Regions from separate parts of the Homo sapiens genome. Here region 2 is linked to region 1. Evidence: promoter capture Hi-C in 16 types of primary human blood cells and fetal thymus (Javierre and others, 2016). All regions are on one chromosome and are shown on one strand. The core of a region is centred on a gene start or on the middle of the fragment in contact, and the rest is flanking DNA. Distances in the headings are between cores, read along the strand shown.

Region 1 (2,700 bases), core at 110-2,609:
GGCCTGGGGAAACCATGGCAAAGTAGATCCAGTTAGAGCCCATTAATCTTGATCATTCTGTTTTTTTGGTTTGTTTGTTGTTTTTTTTTTTTTTTTTTTTTGTCCATCTTGTTTCATTTGCTTGCCCTGCCCCCGAGATGGAGTCTTACTCTGTCGCCCAGGCTGGAGTGTAGTGGCACGATCTCGGCTCACTGCAATCTCTGCCTCTCGGGTTCAAGCTTGTCCAGGCTGATCTTGAACTCCTGACCTCGTGATCCCCTGCCTCAGCCTCCCAAAATGCTGGGATTACAGGGGTGAGCCACCGTGCCCAACCTCACTTGCTTTCTTATCCTTACACTCCCCCAGTCCCAGAGAAACTGCCACATACACCACAAAAACCAAACATCCCCCAATGACCTTAGCCGCATTGCTCCATTCACTCCCAGGTGAGAATTCAGGTAAACGTCCACAAAGGTCACAGGCAACGTACATACGGTTCTATTATATCCCATATATTACCCCTTCATGTCCTAAAGAAGACATTTTCTCTTAGAGATTTTCATTTTAGTATATCTTTAAAAAAAAATCTTGTGTTAACTTGCCTCCATCTTTTTCTTGGGTGAGGACACCCAGGAATGACCCTTTTGTGTCTATGATACTGCTGTTCACAGCTTTTCTTGATAGGCCTAGTACAATCTTGGGAACAGGGTTACTGTATACTGAAGGTCTGACAGTAGCTCTTAGACTCGCCTATCTTAGGTAGTCATGCTGTGCCTTTTTTTTCCATTGGTGTATTGTATTTGATTTGTCTCTGATATATTTGGAGTTTTTCTGAGAACTGGAGCAGTAATGCAGCATCGACCTATTAAAATACATTTTAAGCCTTTAAAAAAAAACAGTACCTATCTCATAGGGGTGCTGTGATAACGAAATTAGGTAATCTGTATTGATTGACTTTTAACCATAAGAATATATACAGGTTTTAAATTTATTTATTTATTGAAGAGATGGGGGTCTCTCTATGTTGCCCAGGCTGGTTTCACATTCCAGGGCTCAGGCAATCCTTTCGCCTCAGCCTCCTTAATAGCTGGGACTCTAGGCGCGCACCACTACACCTGGCAGGTTTTATCTTCAAAGGTGAAGAAGGCACTAAGGTCTAGATGCTGAAGCCGATTTCCCAGGTGTCCCCCAAGGTTTGACCCCGCCCACACTTCTCTGGCTATGCGGGCGGCGTCGCTGCGCATGCGCGCGAGTAGAGCAGGGAGGTGCTGGCGCGGCCGCCAGGAGGCGCAGCTAAGTCGCGGCTGCTCTTCCTGGTTCCCAGAGGCCCAGACTTGGACATAGGAGCCGGCGCAAGCTCCGTGCGCATGCGCGCTCCCCTCTCACGCAGCCAACATGGCTCCAGTGGAGCACGTTGTGGCGGATGCTGGGGCTTTCCTGCGGCATGCGGCTCTGCAGGTACGGGGAGCTCCCTCCGGGACGAGAGAGATCTGGGCTGGCCGCCCCTCCCGGAGTGCGTGGAGTCGCGCGGAGCGTTGCTTGGTGCGGGTGGGTCTGAGCTGGGGCGTTCTGTCCGCAGGACATCGGGAAGAACATTTACACCATCCGGGAGGTGGTCACTGAGATTCGGGACAAGGCCACACGCAGGCGGCTCGCTGTCCTGCCCTACGAGCTGCGGTTCAAGGAGCCCTTACCGGAATACGTGCGGCTGGGTGAGTGCCTCTGCCCTAGCGTTGACGGGAAGCTGGGGTCCAGGGCGCAGATGGCACCCAGTTGGGTGCGAGTTGGGGTCTAGCTGCCTTATCAGAGCAGTAGATTTAGAGCCAGCACTTTCTAGGAGATTGTGGTAGGAGAGAGGCTTCCTGGGTCTGGAGTCCTCCAGTAACTAGCTGTATGCTCTCGGGCATAGCATTCAAATTTGGGCCTCGTTTACCTCATCCGCAAAATGGGAATAATAATTGTATCTGTCTCCAAGGTTGCTGTGAGCATGAACTGAGGAATATGGCAGTCAGCTCAGTGTCAAGCACTTTGCAGACAAGCAATAAATTTATTTGGATTTAAAATAAGAGTTTGGATCTCTTGCTATTACTCTCGTCCATTTCTTTTCAGTAGATTGGGCTGATGACTGGATACAAAGATCTGCACCTGGCAGAGCTTTAAAAAGGGAATGCTTTGCATTGTATTAAATGTGAAAGAAAATTAAGCTGGGCGCGGTGGCTTACGGCCTGTAATCCCAGCACTGGGAGACCGAGGCGGGCGCATCACCTGAGGTCAGGAGTTTGAGACCAGCCTGACCAACATGGTGAAACCCTGCCTCTACTAAAAATACAAAATTAGCTGGGCGTGGTGGTGTGCTCCTGTAATCCCAGCTACTTGGGAGGCTGAGGCAGGAGAATTGCTTGAACCTGGAGGTGGAGGTTGCAGTGAGCCGAGATCGTACCACTGCACTCCAGCCTGGGCGACAGAGCGAGACTCTGTCTCAAAAAAAATAAGAAATAAAGAAAATTAAAGAATTGTCTCTTGGCTTAGGAGTCAGCGTTGTTCTCTTGTTGGGAATCAAGGTGATACCCAGGAAAGGCCCCTCAGTGGTTGGAAGTGTTTTAGAGGTTAGAGGCTGATAGTGGAGATGATGTTACCTCCTCTGTTTGTGATTTCTACGATTTTCTCCACCAACTTAGTAGCTCTGTGATCTTTGCCAACTTACTAAATCTTTCCGAGGAA
Region 2 (2,700 bases), core at 80-2,579, 50 kb after region 1:
TTGTAGATACGAAGTCTCACTTTGTTGCCCAGGCTGGTCTTGAACTCCCGGGCTGGCTCAAGTGGTCCTCCTGCCTCGACCTCCCAAAGTGTTGGGATTACAGGCATGAGCCACCATGCTTGGCAAGGCATACTGTATTTAGAACAGAAGGATTGTTTAAAAAATAATAATAAATTTTATATATATGTATATATATATATAAAATCTCCTAACAACTCATTTAGATATATATATATAGATTTGGATGTATTAAGAATTGTTACTCCTTTACAGAATCAACAGATACTGTCTATATTTGATAGGAAGGTATAAGTATGCTGTCTAAAGCAATGTCTTTTACGATTCAATTAGATACCATATTCATGACACCCATGTATCTGTATTAGCATTTTTTTAAAAAATATTTTTCTTCCTTTTTCCTTTCATTTAAACATCAAAAAAAAAAAAATAGAGACAGGGTCTTGCTATGTTGCTCAGGCTGGTCTCCAACTCCTGGCCTCAAGTGATCCTCCTGTCTTAGCCTCCCGAGTAGCTGGGATTACAGAGGCATGAGCCACTGAGCCCAGTGATTTAATATTTTTCTTTAATTTGACTCACTTTTTCCCTCACTCTGGTAGGTAGACACATTATTATTTTTTTATTTTTTAGACAGAGTCTCGCCCCGTTGCCCAGGCTGGAGTGCAATGGTGCGATCTCTGCTCACTGCAACCTCCGTCTCCCGGGTTCAAACGATTCTCCTGCCTCTGTCTGCCAAGTAGCTGGGATTACAGGTGCCCGCCACTATGCCCAGCTATTTTTTGTATTTTTAGTAGAGATGGGGTTTCACTATGTTGGCCAGGCTGGTCTCGAACTCCTGACCTCAGGTGATCTGCCTGCCTCAGCCTCCCAAAGTGCTGGGATTACAGGCGTGAGCCGCTGAGCCCAGCCTATATTTTTTTCTATTACGCATCAAAACACTTATACATGTAAGTTTAAAAATAGTGTTTATCCACGTACCACGGGTAGTTGTGTACCACACTCTGATATGCGCTAATTTAGAGATGTAGAAATAACACCAAAAGAATAAACAGAGATTGTCTCTGGGCATGGGACTAAGGGATGGGGAGACTTGGTTTTCATCAAAAGCACCTCCGTGTATATGTATTGCTTTACTAAACATGAAACATTTAAATTATACGTAAAACAAAAATTCTGTCACACTGAGTCACTTATACTCTACCTGGCAAAATGGTAGGCACAAAATAACTACTCAGAAATATGTCTATATTTCACACCTCCTCCCTAATGATTTTATAATTTCAGCCATATACTCATGCTGCTCAAAACTGTCGTTCATGCACACAATTCCATTCACAAAGTTTGAGGAAAAAAAAGACAGCTATCCACTGCAAAATGAAAACTTTCAGTGTTTTATTTTTGACTGCAGCTGTTTACAGAAATATAGTTGCGAGTATACAAATGTTCCAATAGAAGCAAAATATCTTTTTAATATTTAACAAGTTATCACAGATAGCTAAAAACATAGATGCAAATGAAATTCCCCCAGAGAACAAACTGAAAATATCTGGTATCAGTGCTCTGAAATCCCAACTATGAAAGCCATATACACAAAAATGTAACCCTTATATCATTGCAGGACAATGGAAGAAGGCAGTTCAGTGGTTGATCAGTGTGCTCAAGCAAATAAAATTAAATAAAAATTAAAAATGGCAGAATGGTAGCTAAACCACTTGAGAACAGGTTAATGAAATTATTGGTACTATACTTAAAACATTAAGTAAAAGAAGTGAATGAAACTCATTTAAAGTTGTCAAAAAATTAGCAACTACTTGGAGCTTATCAATTAAAAGGAAACAAGGTAAGCAGACACATTCATTAGATCAAAAGAAATTAGATCAAGTTCACTGGAATCAGTCTGTAACTACTCAAGTCACAATGACTTCAGTGCAGGAGTTTTTTACTGGACACAGAAGTCTGATTCCAAGCCCACTCTTCAACAGCTGAGATTTTGTGTGCGTGTATGTATGTGTGTGTGTGTAGACGTTGTCCTGAGGTTCATCAGCTAAAATAATATAATAAGCAATCCCTACAAAATATTTCAAACCAGGCAAATGACTTCTGGAAGAGAGAGAAAGGAAGGGGAGAGGGAGGGAGAATATGAGTAAGCAAGCAGGGTCATATGGTTAAACATGGAATTTTTTAAAGGAGTTATTACAAGTGGGAGTCAAATAGAACTGTGGTAGAATGCTTTGGGTACAGGAATATGTTATGCAATAAAGTGAGGAAGAGAAAAAGGGAATAAGAAGGGAGGAATGTAACTAGAGCAGCTCCCAACAGTTTGCCTATGTATTTGCCAGCACCAAAATTTGTAGAGTAAGCCACTTACATTTCCACTGCTAGTATTAAGGAAAGACAGCAGTGGTGATTTTTATAAAGTGAGTATACATTTATTTTTATTCTGATATGTGAATTTTTCTTTCACGAGTTAATTAACTGGTAATTTGTAAACAGTGGGAAGAAGATTAGAACAATTATGGAGGTACTGAATTACACAAGGAGATTAAAATGAAATGAATCAATCTACCTATCTTGTGGTTAGTTTATATTTACCATGATGCATACACTTGAGAAACGAGAAATGCCCAAATTGTATAATGCATTATCTTGTTTATTATTTATTTTAGTAAATAATTCTTGTCT

Evidence for each region. Contacts are between HindIII fragments. The CHiCAGO score rates a contact against its expected background, and 5 or more counts as called.
Region 2: a fragment that was not itself captured here is called in contact with the fragment with the promoter of NOB1 in region 1 in 1 of 17 cell types (naive CD4 T cells); the score reaches 5.5 in naive CD4 T cells.

What each region holds. Positions count from the first base shown.
Region 1 is chr16:69,753,585-69,756,284 of GRCh38, reverse strand. It overlaps NOB1 (NIN1 (RPN12) binding protein 1 homolog), which reads left to right and starts at 1,359. Exons shown (of 9, transcript NM_014062.3): 1 at 1,359-1,437; 2 at 1,559-1,691. The coding sequence starts at 1,375. It also overlaps the pseudogene NONOP1. RefSeq lists enhancers at 1,067-1,689, 1,690-2,313. The HindIII fragment of the contact is 2,537 bases long and covers 221-2,700 here.
Region 2 is chr16:69,703,348-69,706,047 of GRCh38, reverse strand. It overlaps NFAT5 (nuclear factor of activated T cells 5), which reads right to left. Exons shown (of 15, transcript NM_138713.4): 15 at 1,394-2,700. Among named protein-coding and RNA genes, the nearest start is that of SNORD13H, 4.0 kb to the left of the region's middle. The HindIII fragment of the contact is 3,242 bases long and covers 1-2,700 here.